3 separate regions of the Homo sapiens genome follow, and all the other regions are linked to region 3. Evidence: promoter capture Hi-C in 16 types of primary human blood cells and fetal thymus (Javierre and others, 2016). All regions are on one chromosome and are shown on one strand. Each heading gives the region's core, a stretch centred on a gene start or on the middle of the fragment in contact. The rest is flanking DNA. Distances are from core to core; before and after follow the strand shown.

The links. The method cuts DNA at HindIII sites, captures the fragments that hold promoters and counts their contacts. A CHiCAGO score of 5 or more calls a contact.
Region 1: a fragment that was not itself captured here is called in contact with the fragment with the promoter of GPR157 in region 3 in 2 of 17 cell types (fetal thymus and M1 macrophages); the score reaches 5.2 in fetal thymus.
Region 2: a contact is called between a fragment that was not itself captured here and the fragment with the promoter of GPR157 in region 3, in 1 of 17 cell types (fetal thymus). The highest score is 5.8, in fetal thymus.

The regions. Positions count from the first base shown.
Region 1 is chr1:9,532,848-9,537,072 of GRCh38, reverse strand. No RefSeq gene overlaps it. Among named protein-coding and RNA genes, the nearest start is that of SLC25A33, 4.5 kb to the left of the region's middle. The HindIII fragment of the contact is 4,795 bases long and covers 1-3,650 here.
Region 2 is chr1:9,556,089-9,560,719 of GRCh38, reverse strand. The region is part of intron 2 of SLC25A33 (solute carrier family 25 member 33); the gene reads right to left. Among named protein-coding and RNA genes, the nearest start is that of SLC25A33, 19 kb to the right of the region's middle. The HindIII fragment of the contact is 885 bases long and covers 1,028-1,912 here.
Region 3 is chr1:9,126,362-9,131,187 of GRCh38, reverse strand. GPR157 (G protein-coupled receptor 157) reads left to right here and starts at 2,086. Exons shown (of 4, transcript NM_024980.5): 1 at 2,086-2,543. The coding sequence starts at 2,161. RefSeq lists enhancers at 209-298, 589-708, 729-798 and silencers at 1,500-1,819, 1,880-2,229. The HindIII fragment of the contact is 8,185 bases long and covers 1-4,679 here.

The DNA of each region.
Region 1 (4,225 bases), core at 4-2,503, 410 kb before region 3:
AGTAGCTGGGATTACAGGCGCCCGCAACCATGCCTGGTTAATTTTTGTATTTTTAGTAGAGACAGGGTTTCACTATGTTGGCCAGGCTGGGCTCGAACTCCTGACCTCAGGTGATCCGCCCGCCTTGGCCTCCCAAAGTGCTGAGATTACAGGTGTGAGCCACCACGCCTGGCTTGAACCTGCTATTTTCCCTGACTAGGATGGCCCCCTTCCTAGACTTCTAGAGCTCCTCTGACACCAGCTCAGGCATTGGCCATGGCCATGTACTGGGTATACAACAGAGATTCCAATAGATAAAAACCTTTAATGAAACATTGGCAATCAAATCCAGCAATATAGAAAAAGGATAATACATCAGGACGAAATGAGAGATGCCCAGGAATTAGAGATTGGTTTAACATTCAAAAAATCAATCCATATAATTCAGCATATTAAGAGAATAACAGGGACACATGTTCCCAGGACCTCCTGGGGCTGTGTCAACAGCAAAAAAAAAAAAAAAAAAAAAAAAAGGAAAAAAAGAAAAAAAAAACAGTGAAAGAGAAAGAGAGAATAATGGAAAAAAACCTGATGACCATGTAAATTGATGCAGAAAAGCATTTGAAAAAACTGAACACCTATTCATGAAAAAAAGCTCTCAGCAAACAAGGAACAGGAGGGAATTCCTCTATCTGATATAAAGCGTCTACCCCAAACCTATAGCTAACATCACACACAACATTAAATAACTGACCACCTGCCCCTAAGATTGGCAATAAGCAAAGATATTTGCCGTTACCACTTACTCAATGTTGTGCTAGAGGCCCTAGTCAGTGCAGTAAGGCAAGAAAAAAAAATGTGTAAAGATCATAAAGAAGTGAAACTGTCTTCAGTCATAGATGATGTAACTGTTTACTAGAAAATTCTAAGTAATCTATATAACAACTACTAGAACTAATTAGTGAATTTAGCAAGATCACAGGAAATAAGGTCAATATACAAAAAAAAAGGTTTTGCTAGCAGCAATTTTAATATAAAAATTTTAAAAATTATTTTTAGGCCAGGCGCGGTGGCTCACGCCAGTAATCCCAGCACTTTGAGAGGCTGAGGCAGGCAGATCACCTGAGGTCAGGAGTTTGAGACCAGCCTGGCCCATAAGCTGCTACTAAAAATACAAAAATTAACTTCGGCATGGTGGTGGGCGGCTGTAATCCCACCTGCTTGGGAGGCTGAGGCAGGAGAATGGCTTGAACCCAAGAGGTGGGAGTTGTGGTGAGCTGAGAACATGCCATTGCACTCCAGCCTGGGTGACAAGAGTGAAACTCCGTGTCAAAAAAGAAAAAAATTATTTTTACAGGCTGGGTGTGGTGGCTCACCTCTGTAATCTCATCACTTTGGGAGGCCACGGTGGGAGGATCATTTCGGCTCTAGACTAACCTGGGCAACATAGCAAGACCCCATCTCTATTTTATTTTATTTATTTTTATTTATTTTTTTAGATGAAGTCTCACTCTGTCACCCAGGCTGGAGTGCAGTGGCATGATCTCAGCTCACTGCAACCTCCACCTCCTGGGTTCAAGCAATTCTCCTGCCTCTGCCTCACGAGTAGCTGGATTACAGGCACGTGCCACCATGCCTGGCTAATTTTTCTGTATTTTTAGTAGAGACAGGGTTTCACCATGTTGGCCAGGCTGGTCTTGAACTCCTGGCCTCAAGTGATCTGCCTGCCTCAGCCTCCCAAAATGTTGACATTACAGACGTGAGGCACCACACCCGGCACCCAACTCTATTTTAATATTAAAAAATTTTTAAATTATTTTTACATCCCTTCTCGGCCTTTTGGCTAAGATCAAGTGTAAAACGATTTTTATAGCTGGGTGTGATGGCACACACCTGTGGTCCTGGCTACTTGAGAGGCTGAGGCAGAAGGATGGCTTAAGCCCTGACGCTGGGCGTGGTGGTTCACGCCTATAATTCTAACACTTTGAGAGGCTGAAGATTGCTTGAACCTGGGATTTCGAAACCAGCCTGGCAACACAGATGGACCCTCACTCTATAAAAAATTTTAAAAATAAGCTGCGTATGGTAGTGTGTGCTTGTAATCGCAGCTACTCTGGAGGCTGAGGTGGGAGAATCTTTTGAGCCTGGGAGGTTGAGGCTGTTGTAAGCCGTGATCGCACCACTGCACTCCAGCCTGGGAGACAGAGAGTGACTCCATCTCAAAAAATAATAATAAAATAAATAATAAGAGCAAAGAAAGAAACCAGACATAAAAAGTATATGATTTCATTTACATGAAATTCTAAAAAAGGTAAAACTAATCTTTAGTGACTGAGAACAGATGAGTGGATGGATGCTGGGGGCCGGGGATAGGAGAGGACTGACTGCAAAGAGGCTGGAAAAAACTTCTTAGGGGTGACAAAAATGTTTCATACCCTGATCAGGGCATATACATACAATGAGAATCTTTGTTTTTGAGACATAGTTTTGCTCTTGTTGCCCAGGCTGGAGTGCAATGGTACCATCTCGGCTCACTGCAACCTCCGCCTCCCGTGTTCAAGCAATTCTCCTGCCTCAGCCTCCTGAGTAGCTGGGATTACAGGTGTCCGCTACCATGCCCAGCTAATTTTTTGTATTTTTAGTAGAGATGGGATTTCATCATTTTGGCCAGGCTGGTCTCGAGCTCCTGACCTCAGGTGATCCACCGCCTCAGTCTCCCAAAGTGCTGGGATTGCAGGCTTGAGTCCCTGCGCCCGGCCCATACAGTGAGAATTAAACTCGTTAAAAGTCATACTTAAAATGGGTGCATTTTATTGTATGTTAATTATAATGTATTTTAGAAACGTTGACCATAAAGTAGGCCAGGCGAGTTGGCTCAGCCTGTAATCCCAGCACTTTGGGTGGCCGAGGTGGGCTGATCACTTGAGGCCAGGAGTTTGAGACCAGCGTGGCCAACATGGCAAAACCCCGTCTCTACTAAAACTACAAAAATTGGCGGGGCGCGGTGGCTCACGCCTGTAATCCCAGCACTTTGGGAGGCCAAGACGGGCGGATCACGAGGTCAGGAGATTGAGACCATCCTGGCTAACACGGTGAAACCCCGTCTCTACTAAAAATACAAAAAAGTTAGCCAGGCATGGTGGTGGGCGCCTGTAGTCCCAGCTACTTGGGAGGCAGAGGCAGGAGAATGGCGTGAACCCGGGAGGCGGAGCTTGCAGGGGGCTGAGATCACGCCACTGCACTCCAGCCTGGGCGACAGAGCGAGACTCCGTCTCAAAAAAAAAAAAAAAAAAAAAAGGAACTACAAAAATTACCTGGGCATGGTGGCGGGCGCCTGTAATCCCAGCTACTTGGGAGGCTAAGGCAGGAGAATTGCTTGAACCCAGGAGGTGGAGGTTTGCTTGAACCCGGGAGGTGGAGGTTGCAGTGAGCTGGGATAGTGCCACTGCACTCCATCCAACCTGGGCAATAGAGCAAGACTTTTGTCAAGAAAAAAAAGAAAGAAAGTTGACTTATAAAGTAAAAAAGCAAGGTGGATTACAGACATAAATATATGTATATATGTATGACATGCCAGGTGTAGAGAGGAAGAAGTTCACAGACAGTTATACTCAGAGATTCATTTAGGTGTTCCTGGGTCTCTGACTTGGTGCGGTGGGAGAGGAGAAGCTTGTTTGGGCTTTTTGTAACCATTCCAAATTTGAAGGGCCTGAGGCTTCCTGCTGACCTGTTGTGGATTTATTTCGCTTTCTCCTCTGACTGCTTGTTGGCAAACCACTAATTGCTTCTTTAATCCTTGTTTTTCTGCAAAAACTGCTGGCTATTGGAAAAACCTCCATCCTCTCCCAAAAGTTTGGGGTTTCATTTCTTTGCAGGGGATTGTAAGGAGCATTTCAATTTAGCAGAGAGCCAAAGGCTGGGGCTGGACCTCCCAGGAGGCCTCACTTAGGGGGAGAGGAAGCTGTGAGGCCTGTTTCTGCCCAGGGGCAGCAGGAGCAGGTAGTGCGATTTGGGGGCAAAGGACAAATACCCAGCAGGTCACTGGTCCTCTTCTCATTTCTCCTCAACCGATCCAGCCTGAGCCAGGTTTCCAGCTATGGGCCTAATGAGACCGCAAGTCAAGCCTCGTTAATGAAAGGCCTGTGTTGTTCCAGCTCTGACAAGGAAAAGCCGCTGCCTGTTGCGAGTCCCGCTCTGTGCCTACAAGGCTGGAATGTGTTTTTCCAACTTTGTGTGAGCTCTTTGT
Region 2 (4,631 bases), core at 221-2,720, 430 kb before region 3:
TTAACAGAATACTTTTCTTTAACAGAATAGAGAATATTTTTTTCTCTGAATTTTGAAAATAAACTTTCTATAAACAAATTCTGTTCTCTGACAAGTCTTTTAAAGTAGTATTCCCCAAATGAGTAAGACTATTAATAAGCAGACAACTTTTTTTTTGAGATGGAGTCTTGCTCTGTTACCCAGACAGGAGTGCAGTGGCACGATCTCGGCTCACTGCAACCTCCGCCTCCGGGGTTCATGCCATTCTCCTGCCTCAACCTCCCGAGTAGCCGGGATTACAGGCGCCCACCGCCACACCTGGCTAATTTTTTGTATTTTTAGTAGAGATAGGGTTTCACCGTGTTAGCCAGGATAGTCTCTATCTCCTGACCTCGTGATCCGCCCGCCTCGGCCACAAGCAGACAACTTTTAAACGAATGACCATGTTATTTGCATGGGTTTTTTTTCTTTTCTCTTTTTTTTTTTTTTGAGATGGAGTCTCGCTCTGCTGCCCAGGCTGGAAGGCAGTGGCGTGATCTCGGCTCACTGCAACCTCCGCCTCCCAGGTTCAAGTGATTCTCTTGCCTCACCCTCCCGAGAAGCTGGGATTACAGGCACGTGCTGCCATGTCCGGCTGGTTTTTGTATTTTTAGTAGAGACGAGGTTTCGCCATGTTGGCCAGGTTGGTCTCTAACTCCTGACCTAAGGTGATCCACCTGCCTTGGCCTCCCAAAGTGCTGGGATTACAAGGGTGAGCCACTGCGCCCAGCCTTGTATGGTTTTTGAATAACAAAGTGTCTTCCAAAAATGTCAACAGGAAACTAACACGGGCTTTGTAGATAAGACAAAAGCCTGTACCCTTGTTCTTGTTTGATCACTTACTAGATAAAGACCCTCTCTGTAAACCATCGTCACCGCCGTTAGCTTAGGGATGGTTAATGAAGAAACAGAAAGCTGTACAATAATCCAGGTGAGAGAGGATGGTGGCTTCAACCCACATGGTAGCAGCCTGAAAAGGAGCCACCCTCTGTTAAGCCCCCCTAAAGCTTCCTAAGTTGGTATATTGTTTTTATGTAAGTCCTGAGTTACAGACTCTGCCTTTAGAACTTATTAACAGGAAAAGATACAAATTTCCCCCGAAGAGTATGCTTTCTTCACATGAGAATTATGTAATAGGATATTCCCCCCCACCTTTTTTTTTTGCCTCTATTAAGAGATAAAAGACTTTAAGGTTAAAAAAAAACAAAACCTTGTGTTTAAAAGCAGAGAGTAGCTATTATAATGACAGCAGCTTTTATTATTTACACGGAGGGAGGGTGTTAAGCCCTTTATATGCAATATCTTCCTGACATGCCAAAACTCATGCATTCAATTTGTATGGAATGCTTGCTATGTGACAGGCAACATTCTCGATGCTTGGGGACGATTTCAGTAATTAAAAGAAACCAAAGTCACTACCTCCAAAGAAGTCCCATTGGAGGGGGTGGTGAAGAGGGAGAAAAGAATAGAAATAAGTAAACTACACTGTATGTTGATGGACGTAAGTGCTACGGATAAAAATATAAAGCAGGAAGGCGGGCTGGAGTGTTGCGGAGAGTTTGCTTTTAAATAGCATGGTCACTATAGGGTCTTCCTGCAAGGTGATGACAGCGGACGTCAGCCGTGCAGACAATGTCTACTGCAAACACCCTGCGGTGGGAAATGTTCCTGGCCTTTTAAAGGAACAAAAAGGAGGCTGGAGAGGCAAAGGGGAAAATAGGAGATGAAAAGTCAGAAGTAATGGGAAGGGTGAGAATCGTGTAGAACCTAGTAGGCCACAGGGATAGCTGTAGCTCTTACCCAGAGGGAGACAGCAACTCTGAGCAGAGGATCTGAGCAGAGGGTTCTCTGGGTGCTCTGCTGAGATCAGACTGAGGGTAGAGGGCAGCAAGCTTTCAAGCCAGAGCAGTCAGGAAGTGAATGCACCAATATAGGTGAGATACGGTGGCTTCCATCAGGACAGTGGTGGAGGAAGTAGTGAGAAGGGGTAAGATTCTGTATTTATTTTGAAGGTAGACTTGATAGGATTTGCTGCAGGGCTGAGAAATAAGATCCAAGGATGACTATGAAGCTTGAGATCTGTGTAGCTGGAAAGATGGAGCTGCCTCTAACAGAGACAGGGAAGACTCTGGGAGCAGTAGGTTTTGTGGAGTTCTGTTTTGCTCATGTTACTCTTGGATGGCTAATAAACATCCAAGCTGTCAAACAGGCAGCCGGATGGAGCGTGTGAGGCTCAGAGCAGAAAGGCTGCCAGCTTACAGATGGTATTTACAGCCATGAAACTAAGTGCGCCCACAGGAGTGGCAGTAGCTAGAGAAGGCCAGGGTCTGGGCCCTGGACCCTCCAACAGCCAGAGGTTGTAAGGCTGCAGCACAGCAAAGGAAACAGAAGCAATAGCCACGGAGGCAGAAGGGTGCAGTCCTAGGAGTCTCTGAGCTGGGAACTGCTGCTGCCTTCGCGGAGAAGCAGCAGAGGCTCAGCCTTGTGTCTGGGGCTTGTTCATTTCTTACTTTACTTTAGCGGCTTCAAGTCTTTCTTAGAAGCAAGGTGGATATACATTGAACATGACTTTGGGCATGTCACTTAGCCCTTAACCTGCATGTCCTCTTCTCTAAAATAGAGGTAACGTCACGCCTGAGTACTCATCTGCTAAGGTTGTGCAAAATCAATGAAATACTACCACGTAAAAGGAGTTTTCTTCGTAAGTGTATACACCTACTATGTACCCACAATTTTTTAAAAGTAGTCCTTTACTTGAAAGTTATTAAATAGTTGTGTGAGAGAATCTTTCTTTTTTTTGACACAGGGTCTTATTCCATTGCCCAGGCTGGAGTACAGTGGCACAATCACAGCTCACTGCAGCCTTGATCTCCTGGGCTCAAGGACATCCTGTCTTACGTAAATTGTGCCTAAAAGTGCTAAATGTGTGGTTTTTGCAATAGAGCACCTGCATTTTATTACGTCTTTTTCTAACATTTCCCAAATACATTTTTACAATGATAAGTAGCTTTCCTGATAAATGTGTCTTGAACACACTCTTGCCCAAGAATCCGTTTGAGAGATCTGAATATCATGCTCAGTTATATTCAACTCCTAAGTTCAGCCTCCTGAGTAGCTGGGATTATAGGTGCACGCCAACATGCCCGGCTAATTTTTTGTATTTTTTGTAGAGATGGGATTTCGCCACATTGCCCAGGCTGGTCTCAAACTCCTGGGCTCAGCTCAAGCAATCCATTTGCATTGGCCCTTCAAAGTGCTAGGAATACAGGCATGAGCCACCGTGCCCAGCCCAGAATTTTAAAAATATATAATAAAGCTGAGGAAATAAAGCTTAAATAAAATAGCTCTTGGGTGAAAAGTGCCACTTTACAAACACCTTTCTGACAAAACATTATAACTAAAATTTTACTTACTAACGCCATTGTTTATATTTTGATGTCAATAAAATAAACTGATTTAAAAGTATTCATGCCGAGCACAGTGGCTCACGCCTGTAATCCCAGCACTTTGGGAGGCCAAGGCGGGCAGATCACCTGAGGTTGGGAGTTTGAGACCCGCCTGACCAACATGGAGAATCCCTGTCTCTAATAAAAATACAAAATTAGCCGGGCGTGGTAGCACATTCCTGTAATCCCAGCTACTTGGGAGGCTGAGGAAGGAGAATCGCTTGAACCTGGGAGGCGGAGGTTGTGCCGAGATCACGCCATTGCACTCCAGCCTGGGCAACAAGAGTGAAACTCTGTCTCAAAAAAACCCAAAATTAATTAATTAATTAAAGTATTCATATATAAGTGATGGCTCATTATTGTGTAGCTGTGGCTGTATTAACCAATGAAGCCGGTGGGACTGTAATGAAAATAGTTTGTCTTTTGTGTGGTGTGGAAGTTGTTCCTGTATTAAAACATGGAGTGGCCTTTTTCCTTTGATTTAAATTTTACTAAACAATTGCCCTAATTGAGGGGAGGGAACAGATACACACAGACACACAGACACACACACAGACACACACACACACACACAGACACAGACACACACACAATCTCTTATGGGGGGGGCTGGATTTACTGGAGATTAGAAAGCCATAAGAATCCAAAATGTTCTAAAATCAGAAACTTTTTGAGTGACAACATGATGCTGAAAGAAATGCCCATTGGAGCATTTTGTATTTCTGGACTGGGGATGCTGAACTGGTATGATGAAGCAAATATTCCAAAATCCGAAATCTGCATTGCTTCTGGTCCCAAGCATTTCAGATAAGGGACACTCAACCCACATATCCTGTAAAACCTAAAATGGAGAAACATTCCCATTTACCTTCCAGGTTGGCCCTATTGACACCCACACTTTTGGGTAACAGTTCCCCAGTTACAGTAAATCCAAATTCACTAGTCATGATTATTTGGCAAGAGGAAATTCATTTTGAATGTTACTGAAGTAACATTACCTGTCTTCAGTTTCCTTATGTCCAAAGCACTGCATGTTCCTTAGAAGAAAGGTGTCACCCGGGACACTGGCACCGCCTAAGCATGTGAAAAGGCAAAGCAGGAGGAGTGTTCTCACAGTCCCATCTTGATGGGGGCCATGGACTCGGATCTGTCCTGAGAGCAAAGTGT
Region 3 (4,826 bases), core at 837-3,336:
GGAGGCCAAGGTGGGAGAATTCTTAAGCCTAGGAATTTGAGACTGCAGTGAGCTGTGGTTGTACCTGCACTCCAGCCTCGGCGACAAGACCTTGTCTCAAAAAAAAGTTTTGGAAGAATGTAGAGAAATTGCGACCTTCATTGCTAGTGCAAATGTAAAATGATATGTACAGTCACTTTGGAAAACACCTTGGCAGTTCCTCACAAGGTGAAATATAAAGTTGCGTATGGCCCAGCAACTCCATTCCTAGGTATACACATAGGAGAATTGAAAACATACACCCACAAAAAAACTTGTATGCAAATTTTCATAGTGGTATTATTCTTAATAGTTAAAAAGTGTTAACAACCCAAATGTCCATCGGCTGATGAATAATAGCTAAGTAAAATGTGGTATATCCTGCCGAGCGCGGTAGCTCATGCCTGTAATCCTAGCACTTTGGGAGGCCAAGGCAGGCAGATTGCCTGAGCTCAGGAGTTCAAGACCAGCCTGGGCAACACGGTGAAACCCCACCTCTACTAAAATAGAAAAGAAATTAGCCGGGCGTGGCGGCGTGTGCCTGTAGTCCCAGCTACTCGGGAGGCTGAGGCAGGAGAACTGCTTGAAGCCGGGAGGCAGAGGTTGCAGTGAGCCGAGATCATGCCACGGCTCTCCAGCCTGGGCGACAGAGGGAGACTCCGTCTCTAGAAAAAAAAAAAAAAGGTGGTATATCCATATAATGGAATATTACGGGGCAGTAAAAGGAATGAAGCACTGCATATGCTACGATGAACCTTGGAAACGTGCTAAGTTAAAAAAGTCAGACATAAAGGCCACAGAGCATATGAGTCTATTTACAGGAAATGTGCAGAATAAGCAAATCCACGGTAGAAGAGTGGTTGCCAGGGCTGTCGGGGAGAACTGAGGGCTAACAGCTGAGGGATAAGGATTTCTTTTTGGGAGTAATGACAATGTTGTAGAATTACATAATAATGATGGTTGCACAAACTTGTGAACATACTACTGAATTGTTCGGTTAAGAGGGCCAATTTTATGGTATGTGAATTACATCTTAATTACAAAGTTTGAAATTTTTAAAGAAAAAGCCATGCCCTGCCTAGCATTTCATTTTTTAAAAATCACACCTAGTTAGCTATGGTTTTTAAAAAATAGCATGCTTATTTTAAGAAAAGGTGGAAACGCCGGCTTCCCCAAGTCACCACCAACTTGTGAACACGTCGGGATCACGGCTGAAGGAATGAGGATCATACCCGAGAGCTGTTTCTGTTGCTAGTGGAAAGAATGCCTCTGATCCTCACGCCCTTCCACTCACAACACACACAGAAGCTGGCTGAAAAGAGGGAAAGTAATATTAGCCCTAAAAATGCCAGCCCTTCCTCTCACAGGACTGGATGTCCCAGACACCTGGCAAGAGCAGGGGTGGGCCTGGAGGAGCGTGGAGGGACAGGTGCTGGGACCTGGGGGTGCCCTGAGGTAGGGCTTAGGGACCTAGGGGCTTAGGGGCGTGGTGTGAGGGCGTGGGCGGGGCTCAGGAGCCTCGGGCACCGGGTGGAGCTTGGAAGCCTCAGGGGCGTGGCGGGGGCGGGGCTCAGGGCCCGGGGCAACGGGACGAGGAAGGGCACCTGAGCCAGGGTCAGGGCCCGGAACACAGGGGTGTGGCGGGGTGCGTGGGCGGAGCGGGGCGCGTGGGTTAGGCTCTAGGCCCAGGTCTCTGGGCCCTGTGGACAGGGGATCGGGGCGCGTGGGCGGAGCTCTAAGTCCCAGTCTCAACGCGGGGGCACACGGGCGGGGGGGGGGCGTGTGGGCGGGAAGGGCATGTGGGCCGGGGGACGTGTGTCCGGGGCTCGGATTGTGGGCGGGGCTCAGGGCCTGGGACGGCGGGACGGGGCTGGGAGTGTAGGCGGGGCTTAAAGGCCGGGGTACCGGGGTGGGGCGCGGCGCGTGGGCGGGGCTCAGGGCCCGGGATATAGGGGCGGGGCGCAGGGCGTGGACGGGGTTCAGGGCCCGGGGCCCAGATGGGCGGGGGAGCGGCCGGACGCGGGCGGGGCGGGCGCCTGGACGCGAGCCTAGGGCGCCTCGGTGCCCAGACGGCGGCGGCGTGGCCGCACGCGCGGCCCGGCTTCTGTCCTCGCGGCGCTCCGGCTCCTGGCCCCCCACGCCATGCAGCCGTCCCCGCCGCCCACCGAGCTGGTGCCGTCGGAGCGCGCCGTGGTGCTGCTGTCGTGCGCACTCTCCGCGCTCGGCTCGGGCCTGCTGGTGGCCACGCACGCCCTGTGGCCCGACCTGCGCAGCCGGGCACGGCGCCTGCTGCTCTTCCTGTCGCTGGCCGACCTGCTCTCGGCCGCCTCCTACTTCTACGGAGTGCTGCAGAACTTCGCGGGCCCGTCGTGGGACTGCGTGCTGCAGGGCGCGCTGTCCACCTTCGCCAACACCAGCTCCTTCTTCTGGACCGTGGCCATTGCGCTCTACTTGTACCTCAGCATCGTCCGCGCCGCGCGCGGGCCTCGCACAGATCGCCTGCTTTGGGCCTTCCATGTCGTCAGGTGGGTGGCGGTGGCGCTGCTTTTCCAGGAGCCCCCGACACAGGCCGACCCCTCCCGGTCTTGCCCTCCCAGAGGCCGCGTCTAGGTTGGACACCCCCTACCCACAGCAAGCAGTGCCTGCTGGCGCCCCCGAGGCTGTCCTGGGCCAGCGGGAGGAGGCCAGCCTTGCCCGAGATTCGCTCCCTCCCGAAGGAGCCCCGCTGTGCCTGCCCCAGGGCACAGCCCCTTGGGGTAGTGGGGACAGAGTTCGCCCCCAGAGCCGGGCCCTGTTTCCTTGGACGGGGCTGGGGAGGACACTCTGAGCCCCTTGTGACCTGCTTCACTGTGTCCTGGCTGTCTCTGCTGCCCATGGGGAAACAGGCTGGGAGACGAGTTAGGTAACTGTCCCGGGCTGGAGAGCCGGCAACTGCCAGTCCCACGCCACCACCCCACCCCAAGCCACAGTGAGCTTGGTGCACTCCGCCACTCCCGAGCTGCCGTGTCTCTGCTGTACAGTTTACAAAGGACTGTGCTTTTTATTCTGTCTTTGGTCGTTTCTAGCCTCAGGCCCCAGCCCCTTGTATTTCTGTTCTAGATGATCTTGACTTTCCAGAGTTCAGCAATTCTGAGATTGAGGGCAGGGGCGGAGGGCTGGTCTGGGAGTCTCGGAGTCCTCCTGGAGTCTCTCTGAGAGTGGGGAAAAGCCAAGACCTTACTTTGCGATTCAAGCGTCTTTCAAGTAAGCCTCGCTGAAGAGGGTCGGCCCTTCCCTGGGGAATGTCAGGTTTTGAAAATCTCATGGCGTCCTGTGCTGTGCTGAACTGAGGGCAGGAATCCTAGGGGCTGTTTTCCTTTTCTCCTTCTCCCAGATCAGAGCATCAGATACTGCCCTAATTATAGGTCCTTTCTATTAAAAACTTAAGTGCATTCCAAGGACTGCGAGCACAGTCAGCACTTTGGCAGAGACAGGTCACCTGGGTGTCACACGGCAAGGCTACAGGGCTGTAAGAGTCGCTTGACCTTCAGTTGTGCACTGAGGCCGGCTGGTCCTTGAGAAACTAAGTGACCTGCTTCTCAGCTGTACAAGTAAAAAATCTTTGCAACACATCATCCAAACCGAGGCTCAGATGCTGCAGATGGAATAGGGCCCTGCCTTGCCTTGCCTTCCCGGCAGCATCCCATCTGACCCTGTCTGGGTCCCGTGATGGCTGGCTGGGTGTGGGCCCCGAGTACACGGGAGATCGTGTGTACTTGGAAGGAGTCGAGGCTGTACCTCTCTTTGCAAGAACCTGTTCTCTTTCCCTTCTTGTCTTTAAAAATATTGAATACAGTATTTTTTTAATGGTAACAGAACCTGGTCCAGCTTCTGTGGAAAAGAAGGATTGCCCAGCAAACCTGAGTTGGGGGTTTTTCTGTTCGGTTCTCATTACGGACCCTCTAGGGGGGTTTCTGTGTTGTTCAGGAAGGGCTTCTTTGATAAAGAAGTAGGCCCAGTGTGGTGGCTTGTACCCGTAATCCCAGCACTTTGGGAGGCCGAGGCAGGAGCATCGCTTGAGCCCAGGAGTTCAACTGGCCAACACAGTGAGGCTTTGTCTCTACTAAAAATTTAAAAATTAGCTGGGCATGGTGGCGCATGCCTGTAGTTCCAGCTACTTGTGAGGCTGAGGTGGGAGGATCGCTTGAGCCTGGGAGGTCGAGGCTGTAGTGAGCTATGATTGCAGACAGAGCAACACCCTCTCTCAAAAAAAAAAGAAAAAAATTTTTAAAAAATGAAGGAAAAAGAAAAGAAAAAACAAGCAACGTATTCATCTTGTCTGTTGAATGTGACCTGCCTGCATCTTAAAAGAAAATAAAATTATCTGTATCCAAGCTAGAGAGGGAGTTTGACAATTTATTCTCTGGAGTTCTCAGCACTCAGACTTCGCTAGTCTAAGGGAATTGGTTAAACCTGCCTAACAGGTTCATCTGTTAACCTAGATCTTCCCAGACTGTATTGCCAATGACCTTACTAAGGACTCTCCAGTGTATTTCTTTGGAATATTAGTTTATTGTTTGCAGGATCTATTGATGTGAGAAATATCACCTTCAGGCATAGACTACATGATTATCCACTTTTTAACCATTTCATACTACTGGAATTCAGTCCTCTTCAAAGCTTTCAGTTTTAGAAAGTATTTTAAAATACGACAACACAGAAGGTTGACATCCTTATTCTAATGTGCGTTTAGGAATTGAATTGTTTTAAACCCACAAATATCCTGAAAAATGGACAAAGGACATACTCAAGCAAAATAGTAACAGCAG